2 separate regions of the Homo sapiens genome follow, and region 2 is linked to region 1. The links are contacts of gene promoters, found by promoter capture Hi-C in human tissues and cell types (Jung and others, 2019). All regions are on one chromosome and are shown on one strand. The core of a region is centred on a gene start or on the middle of the fragment in contact, and the rest is flanking DNA. Distances in the headings are between cores, read along the strand shown.

Region 1 (4,701 bases), core at 1,917-4,416:
CGGGGACAGAATGGACAACCTGTCCACCAGTGTGGCTGTGAAGGGAGGAGGAGCAGATGGAGGCAGGTGAGGGCTTGGTGTTGCAAAATGCTTTTTTTTTTTTTTTTTTGAGACAGAGATTCACTCTTGTCGCCCAGGCTGGAGTGCAATGGCGCGATCTTGGCTCACTGCAACCTCTGCCTCCTGGGTTCAAGCGATTCTCCTGCCTCAGCCTCTTGAGTAGCTCAGATTACACGCCTGGCTAATTTTGTATTTTTAGTAGAGATGGGGTTTCACCATGTTGGTCAGGCTGGTCTTGAACTCCCAACCTCAGGTGATCCGCCTACCTCGGCCTCCCGAAGTGCTGGGATTACAGGTGTAAGCCACTGCACCTGGCCTGTGAAATGATTTCTCATAGCATGTTCTAACATTTCACATGTACAACTTTGATTTTAATCCATTTGTAAAGCTTCAGTCACTGACTCCTATTGGGAACCTCCAAAGCACAGTAAAATTTCAGCTATCCAGGATTCTTGGCAAATGAGTCATTCTGGAAAACCAACTTTTATTTGGATGAAAATATTTGAAATATAGGATTTCTTTCTTTCTAAAAAAAATTTTTAATGAAAATTTTCAAATATATAAAAATAGGCCAGTGTTGTGGCTCACACCTGTAATCCCAGCACTTTGGGAAGCCAAGGCAGAAGGATCACTTGAAGCCAGGGGTTCAAGACCAGCCTGGGCAACAAAACAAGACCCCCATCTCTACAAAAATAAAAATTAAAAAATTAGCTGGGGGCTGGGCGCTGTGGCTCATGCCTGTAATCCCAGCACTTTGAGAGGCTGAGGTGGACGGATCACCTGAGGTGAGGAGTTCGAGACCAGCCTGATCCAAAATGGTGAAACCCTGTCTCTACTAAAAATACAAAAATTGGCCAGGCGCGGTGGCTCACACCTGTAATCCCAGCACTTTGGGTGGCTGAGGCGGGTGGATCACGAGGTCAGGAGATCAAGACCAACCTGGCAAACACTGTGAAATGCTGTCTCTACTAAAAATACAAAAAAATTAGCTGGGCGTGGTGGCAGGCGCCTAGTAGTCCCGGCTACTCTGGAGGCTGAGGCAGGAGAATGGCATGAACCCGGTGGGGGCAGAGCTTGCAGTGAGCGGAGACTGTGCCACTGCACTCCAGCCTGGGCAACAGAGGGAGACTCCATCTCAAAAAAAAAAAAAAAAAATACAAAAATTAGCCGGGCATGGTGGTGGGTTGGTGGGTGCCTGTAATCCCAGCTACTCAGGAGGCTGAGGCAGGAGAATCGCTTGAACCTGAGAGGAGGAGGTTGCAGTCAACCGAGATCCCGCCACTGCACTCCAGCCTGGGTGACAGAGTGAGACTTCGTCTCAAAAAAAAAAAAAAAAAAAAATTAGCTAGCAAGGCACGGTAGTGTGTGCCTGTAGTCCCAGCTCCTCTACAATCCTGCCATTGCACTTCAGTCTGGGTGACAGTGAGACCCTGTTTCAAAAAATAATAAAAGTAGAAGATATAAGGAACCCCTGCATCCCGCCATCCAGCTTCAGCACTTACCAACTCAAGGTCAATTCTGTCTCATCTCTACCCCACCTGCTCACCAACAAGCCCTGGAATATTTTGAAGCAAATCCCCGATGTTACAGCAATTCATCTGTAAAGCTTTTGTATGTTTCTCCAAAAGACACTTTAAAAACATAACCACAAGCCAGGCGTGGTGGCTCATGCCTTTATTTCCAGCTATTCAGGAGGCAGGAGGATCCTTTGAGCCCAGAAGTTTGAGTCCATCCTTGGTAACATAGGAAGACACCACCTCTCAAAAAAAAAAAAAAAGGCCAGGCGCAGTGGCTCACGCCTGTAATCCCAACACTTTGGGAGGCCAAGTCAGGCGGATCACGAGGTCAGAAGATCGAGACCACCCTGGTTAACACGGTGAAATCCCATCTCTACTAAAAAATACAAAAAATTAGCCAGGCATGGTGGCGGGCACCTGTAGTCCCAGCTACTTGGGAGGCTGAGGCAGAAGAATGGTGTGAACCCGGGAGGCAGAGCTTGCAGTGAGCCAAGATCGCGCCACTGCACTCCAGCCCGGGCGATAGAGCGAGACTCCGTCTCAAAAAATAAATAAATAAAATAAAATAAAAAATAAAAAACATAACCACAATACCATATTAGTTCTCAATTTTTTTTTTCGAAATGGATTTTTGCTCTTATCACCCAGGCTGGAGTGCAATGGTGCAATCTCCGCTCACTACAATCTCTGCCTCCCAGGTTCAAGTGATTCTCCTGCCTCAGCCTCCCAAGTAGCTGGGATTACAGGCATGCACCACCAGGCCTGGCTAATTTTTTGTATTTTTTTTTAGTAGAGACAGAGTTTCACAATGTTGGCCAGGCTGGTCTCGAACTCCTGACCTCAGGTGATCCACCTGCCTTGGGCTCCCAAAGTGCTAAGATTACAGACATGAGCCACAGTGCCCTAAAATTTTTAACAATTCCTCAATATAGTCAAATATCCATTGTTCAAAAATATCCATTGTTCAAATTTCCCCAATATCTTTTTTTTTTTTTGCAGTTGGGTTAAAATTTGGCTCCAAACAAGGTCTGCACGTTGCGTTTTTGTGCTGTCTCTAAAGACTCCCTTCTTTTTTCCATGTAATGCTTTTGTTGAGGAAACCAGGCTGCTTGGAAGGATGAGCCTGGGGGAATTCGGGAGAGGGAGAGAGGGGGCAGGGAGGAGAGAAGGATGGGTGTCCAGATAGATGTGCCATCCATGCTGGGGGACACAGGCAGAATGTGGAGGCCTGTCTCCCTAACTGGGAGGGGAGGCCAGGGCTGCTGAAGGGTGGGGGCCAACCCTGGGCACCCCCCCTTCCCCTCTGCCGCATCCAACTGCTGGAAGTGATGGGAGACAGAAAGATGGCCTGAGTCAGGAGCAGGGGCAGAGCTCAGGTTGTCGTGGGGTCCCGCTGCCCACGTCAGACTGGAGGTGAGGGATGGGCGGGGCCTGACAGCAGGCCTGGAAGGAACAGGATGTCTATGCTGGAGATAGAGGGAGAGGACAGTGCCAAAACCCAGCTCCTGGCCAGTCCCCAGCTCCTCCCTGCCTGGCCCTATCCCAGGATCCCCTCCCCGGCCTCCCAGCTATGATCTACCCCGGGGCCCAGACTTCAGGCGCCTTCACGATGCCGGCGGTCAGTGGTCCAGGTCCCTTATTCTGCCTTCTCCTCCTGCTCCTGGACCCCCACAGCCCTGAGACGGGGTGTCCTCCTCTACGCAGGTTTGAGTACAAGCTCAGCTTCAAAGGCCCAAGGCTGGCATTGCCTGGGGCTGGAATACCCTTCTGGAGCCATCATGGAGGTGAGGGGCAGGGGTGGGGACCAGCTATGCCCAGGGTCCCTCAAAGTGCTGGAGGGGCTGTGACTTGGTGGGGAGTGGGTCTGTCACAGCCATCCTCTGTCCAGGGTGGGGCAAGGCCTGGGACAGTGCCAGGCACCCCAGGACCCCTTCCAGGCTTGTCTCCTGCTCCACCGCCTCAACACCCCCCACCCCTGCCCAAGCTGTTTCTCCTCTGCCTCTCTGCTTCCCTGCCCCAGGACTTCTCTCTTCTCCTCTGCCTCTCCTTGGACCCCTGCCCTTCCTCTACCTCTGACCTGTGAACACACAGACACATGCTCACACACTAAGTCCCAGGCACACAGAAGGCAATGTGGACCAGCACAAACCTCCACTCTCCCGGCTCCATCCCAGCGGGCCTGTGGCTGGCCATGAGAACTGGGGGCTACCTGGAGGGAAGCATCCTCATCCCAGGTGAGTGGGCACCAGCCCTTCCCTGTATGTGTGTTGTGGGTGGAAGCAGGCATGAGAGCATCTTAGCCCATAGGTTTGTATTCAGGGACTTCCAAACCCAGACCTACAAAGAGTGTGTCTTCTACCAGATCTTGTTCAAAAAAGGGTTTGTGATGATGGAACTACACGATAGAGGGAGTGAGCAAGAACAATGAGGATTAGAGTGGAGCGTGAAATAGTCTAGGAGCATGGCTTCCAAAACATATGCTGTGAGGTCTGTCCACCTGAGAGTTGGGCCATGGATTTAATTCTGAGCCTCTTAGCAGGCAAAGCAAAGACAGAAAGCAGATCGGCTGTGGATTTCTGTCTATAAAATGTGAGTTCTTGGCCAGGTGCAGTGGCTCACGCCTGTAATCCCAGCACTTTGGGAGGCCAAGGCGGATGAATCACGAGGTCAAGAGGTTGAAAACCATCCTGGCCAAAATGGTGAAACCCTGACTCTACTAAAAATACAAAAATTAGCTGGGTGTGGTGGCGTGCGCCTGTAGTCCCAGCTCCTCAGGAGGCTGAGGCAGGAGAATTGCTTGAACCTGGGAGGCCAAGGTTGCAGTGAGCTGAGATCCTGCCATTGCACTTCAGCCTGGGCACAGAGCCAGACTCTGGCTCAAAAAAAAAAAAAAAAAAGATGTGAGTTCTGAGAAATGGCACGATTCCTAACTAAAGCCAGGACAAAATATCCCTTTTTTTTTTGTGAGATGGAGTTTCACTCTTGTTGCCCAGGCTGGAGTGCAGTGGTGTGATCTTGGCTCACTGCAACCTTCACCTCCCAGATTCAAGTGATTCTCCTGCCTCAGCCTCCTGAGTAGCTGGGATTACAGGTGTGTGCCACCACACGCAGCTAATTTTTGTTT
Region 2 (4,961 bases), core at 1,384-3,883, 42 kb after region 1:
CTAAACTATAATAAGAAACCCACAGACCCAAGCCTCATTTGAAGAGCCTGGTGGATGTGTGAGAAGGAAAACAGTGCAAGCCTGCTAACAGTGAGTGGAAAGGGGAGACACGTGAAGGCAGATGGCGTGTGCCTGAGCCTCAGGATCTGTACAAGCACCCTGCCCCATGGCCTGCCCCCAGGAGCTGCCTCCTGAGGTCCCCCTAAACTGCAATTGGCTACACCCCAGGACAGCCCCTTAGGTGTGGCCCTGCCCTGCCTGGCTTTAGTGGCATGCAGAGTCCACACTTATCTCCTCTCCAGGCGGGGTAGAGCCTCTGAGTAACAGTAAGGGACTGACTGTATGTGAGGCTGAACAGACCTGGCCCCGGGGCCCTGCACCTGCTGGCAGCTGCTGCCATTTGGGCCAGGTTCCTCCTGAAGGATGAGACTACAGTCCTTTTTAGGGAGAGATCTCAAACTGGTCATTTCACAGGATGACAAACCAGGCACATGTGTACACACACACATGTATACACACACCAACCTCTCCAAAAGCTCTTCAAAGACCTAAGGCTGACGTGGAGAGCCAAGTTTCAGGCACTGGGGGCGGAAGCAGGAGCAGAACTGACCCCGCTGTGCCACGCTGGGGGTCTTGACCTCCTCCAAGTCTGTGACGCCAGCTGAGAAGGACCCAGCTCCCTACAGCCCACCACCCAGCTGCACAGAAAGGCAACTCCGCATGTAAGGCCTGCCTCACCTCCACAGGGCTCTGGGGCCTGGGAGGGGTGTGGGGCAGGCTCCGGGTGCCCTGCCCTTCCTCCTGCTCATCTACATTAGGCCTACCTTCGGAAGCTTTCGCATGTAGCTGTCTCTGAGAATACTTTCTCCTCCTAGGAGCATCTGCCTCTCTGAGAGCTCGCTCACTGCCAGGAATTGGGCAGGCGGGAACTTGCTGGCCTGTCTAAGCAGGAGCTGCAACACACAACTCCACCATGGGTCACGCTCATAGGGGCAGCGAGGGGTGCAGCGGGAGGGCAGTGAGGCGGCGCAGTGGAGCACCAGGCACAAAGCAGGCAAGATTCACAGTATTTGGTGAAGGGACAAAGGAAGACAGGAAGGAAGGTGAGAATTAATGAAGTTAAAAAAAAGAGAGAGATTCTGGGCCCCAAGGAAGAGAGAACAAGCCAAAGGCCCGAGGAGGACCTGGAGGGGTACAACAGGGACAAATGCCCTCTCTGGAGGCACCGAGGAGCCCGGCCTGGTGAGTAGAGCTTATTTCTCAGTGGTGGTGGTGGGTGGGATGGAGGGAGTAAGGATATTAATTGGCAGAGCAGCCCCTCTACTTGTAGGTGACCAGCTCCGAACAAATTAGCAAGAGGGCCCTTAGGGGGCCAAGGCTGAAAGCTCTCTGCTTGCCCCCAGCCTCAGGGCTCAGCTACTGGTCTGGATGATTCCCTCACTGGAGAGAAAAGGCCAGAGTTCTTTGTCAGCACTACCTGGGGGGTCGGCTGGGTTGGTTCCACTGATGGCTGGAGAACCGCTGGCTGTGAGGACCCAGGGAGTTGGGTGACAGGAACTGTTGTCGCTGCATTTGTCTACATGGAACAAATCAAAAGACAGAATTGAGTGGGACTCCATTAGCTGGTGACGAGGGGGCAAACCCACAGCAGGATGAGTGATGTGCCCCTGCCTGTGAGGGGACTCCCTCGGGGCCTGCACTGGGCCTTCCCCTGTGGCTTCCCAGCCAACAAGCCTCAGGTTCAGGCCATCTGATCCCTAACCCGGCACCCCTGGGCTCGCTGGGTCCAGCACACTTGGGCACTGCCCTGACCTCCTTGGGGAGGGGCCCCGGTCACAGATCCCAAGGGGAGAATTTTACAGAGCGTTTGGTGGCTTTGCCATCCTTACCCTGCCTCCCGGGTTCATGTTAGGACTGTCCCTTTGAGGACTGCCGCTTCTCAGAGCTGCTTCTGTCCTTGCCAAGGATCCCTGCCCCGGACACCCCAGCACCACCCTAGAGGGCCATGGGACTTGGAAAGAGGGCCTGCTCACCAACCTCTGAGAAGGGGTTGAATTCCGCCAGGCCGCCCTGCGGGGCGTTGGTCAGCTGGGTCACAGAGGGATCCTGAGAAGGTGAAAAAAAGCCCTTAGACACAGTGGAGAAAATCCGGGCCAGGGGCCGGCAGGCGAGCCGGTGACGCCTGACTGAAGCAGGGCAGCTGATCACCCTCCCGGGACCCTGAGAAGCCTCTCTGGAAGGGTCCTGTGCCTGCCTCTGCCACACCACAGCTGCGGTCCCTTCTCCCTTCCCCCTTCCTGGAAAAGGTTCAGCCCAGAAGAGACCCAGAGCAAGCTTTACCCAGAAGCTTGAGAGTACACACCACACAGGCTCCTGTTGGTGCCCTATACAGATTCAAAATGGTTCATAGTATTTACCTCTAGGGAGTGGGTTTTTTTTTTTTTTTGAGGGGTGGGGTGCTGAGGGGCAAGTGAATGGGGTGGTGAGGGTAGAGACTTACTATTGACTTTATAACCTTTCTGTACTGTTTTACTTATTATTCATTTATTCCTCTTTTTTTATATTTTTTTATTTTTTCGAGACAGAGTCTTGCTCTGTCACCCAGGCTGGAGTGCAGTGGCGCAATCTTGGCTCACTGCAACCTTCGCCTCCTGGGTTGAAGCGATTCTCCTGCCTCAGCCTCCTGAGTAGCTGGGACTACAGGCGGCCGCCACCATACCCGGCTAATTTTTGTATTTTTAGTAGAGACAGGGTTTCACCATGTTGGCCAGGATGGTCTCAATCTCTTGACCTCGTGATCTGCCTGTCTCGGCCTCCCGAAGTGCTGGGATTACAGGCGTGAGCCACCATGCCTGGCCATTCCTCTTATTTTGTAAAAGACAGTCTAAGGTAGCCGGGTGCAGTAGCTCATGCCTGTAATCCCAGCACTTTGGGAGGCTGAGGCGGGTGGATCACCTGAGGTCGGGAGCTCAAGACCAGCCTGACCAACATGGAGAAACCCCGTCTCTACTAAAAATATAAAATTAGCCAGGTGTGGTGGCGCATGCCTGTAATCCCAGCTACTCCGGAGACTGAGGCAGGAGAATCACTTGAACCCGGGAGGCAGAGGTTGCAGTGAGCCCAGATTGTGCCATTGCTCTCCAGCCTGGGCAACAAGAGCAAAACTCCATCTCAAAAAAAAAAAAAAAAAAAAAAGTAGTCTAAGTTTCTAGAACAAAAACATGCTGCTGGCTGCCAGTACTGATTTTATTAAATCGGGCACACTTGCTAAGAGCAGAGATATGATGAGCTGAGGTGAAAATTCAAGAAAATGTTTCTGGGTTTCGGGGGTTTTTTAAAGTCTTTTCATAAAATCCAAGAATGTCCTCAGAACACAACCTTGTCTCCCTTTCCCATCTGATCTCTGCATGGGGCTCTGCCATCCTCTTTACTGTGCCCCTGCTGGCCTGGAACAGTTGTCTTCACCCTGCCCTGCCCCAAGAAGAGCTCCTCCACACCCTCCCCTTCCTAGTAACAGATGCAGGGCTCAGGTCCAGCTTCACAGCCATGCCTGGGCTCCATGAGGAACAGCCCTGAGGGTGGCCAAATTCAGGGCTGTTCCTGCCTGTGGAGACACCGCTTGGGTTCCACACCTCACCCCACACCCCTAATTATTAAACCAGATGCTCCCAAACTTCAGGCCCAGCCTCACCTCCACTGGAAGCCTCTGCAGAGCCAGTTCTTTTTTTTTTTTTTTTTTTTTTTTTTTTAAGACAGAGTCACGCTCTGTCACCCAGGCTGAAGTGCAGTGGCATGATCTCCACTCACTGCAGCCTCCGCCTTCTGGGCTCAAGCTATTCTCGTGCCTCAGCCTCCTGAGTAGCTGGGATTACAGGCGCCTGCCACCACACCTAGCTAATTTTTATATTTTTAGTAGAGATGGGGTTTCACCATGTTGGGCAAGCTGGTCTTGAACTCCTGGCCTCAGGTGATCCGCTCACCTCAGCCTCCCAAAGTACTGGGATTACAGATGTGAGCCACTGCACCTGGCCTCCAGTTCTTTTTTTTTTTTTTCCTTTTTCTTTTTTAGAGACAGGGTCTCACTCTGTTGCCCAGGCTGGAGTACAGTGGTGCAATCATAGCTCATGGTAGCCTCAAACTCCTGGGCTCAAGCATTCCTCCCACCTCAGCCTCCGGAGTAACCAGGACTACACACATGAGCCACCAGGCCTGGCTGATTTTTAAAGTTTTTTTGTAGAGATGGGGTCTTGCTTTGTTGCCCAGGCTGGTTTTGAAGTCCTAAGCTCAAGTGGTCCTCCCACCCTGGGCTCCCAAAGCACTAGGATTACAAATGTGAGCCACCTTGCCCTGTCCAGATCCAATTGTTAAATACAATGCTAATATTAGACATAGCCACAGAGTGACCCCCTCAGTTTACAGATGTAGAAACTGATATTCACCATGATCCTAGGACCCAAAATGGGAGCTCTCTCCTTACTCTGAATATTTATAGAGCTGAGGGTCAGCATTGAATATGTTCTCTGGTTTTATCACAGATACTTCCTCTTATCTCTTATCTTCCCACCTGAGCCACCAGTTCATAGAGGGTATGAATGTCTGACTGCCTCCAGGCATACAGCCAGAACTCACTGTGTCTGGACGGGCCTCATACTACAGCCTCCACCCCTTCCAACCTCCTCTGCGACAGACTGTGGCTATGTTCTTCCTGCTGAACACCACCTCTGCCCTGATGGCTCCTGCAACTTGGACAAAGTGACAAGGTGAAGTTCAGGAGGCTCTGTGTTGCTGAAGAATTGGCCTTGAGGTTATTTCATGCCTGAATGACCAGTGGTTTACTACCAGAATCATCTGGCTTCCTGCAAGGAAGATTTGGGGCTTGGTATCTGTTCCCCTCTCAGACTCAGCAGACACCTAGCCACCGCTGAAGTCACTGAAATCGGATCTACCATCCACAGAAGTGG

What was found. Contacts are between HindIII fragments. The study calls those that stand out against the background at their distance.
Region 2: a contact is called between a fragment that was not itself captured here and the fragment with the promoter of LMAN1L in region 1, in 2 of the 25 tissues and cell types used here (neural progenitor cells and small bowel).

The regions. Positions count from the first base shown.
Region 1 is chr15:74,809,669-74,814,369 of GRCh38, forward strand. LMAN1L (lectin, mannose binding 1 like) reads left to right here and starts at 3,167. Exons shown (of 14, transcript NM_021819.3): 1 at 3,167-3,361. The coding sequence starts at 3,187. The HindIII fragment of the contact is 6,905 bases long and covers 1,058-4,701 here.
Region 2 is chr15:74,852,544-74,857,504 of GRCh38, forward strand. SCAMP2 (secretory carrier membrane protein 2) reads right to left here. Exons shown (of 9, transcript NM_005697.5): 2 at 2,038-2,106; 3 at 1,478-1,576. Among named protein-coding and RNA genes, the nearest start is that of ULK3, 12 kb to the left of the region's middle. RefSeq lists enhancers at 3,844-3,913, 4,660-4,769, 4,800-4,859. The HindIII fragment of the contact is 4,540 bases long and covers 364-4,903 here.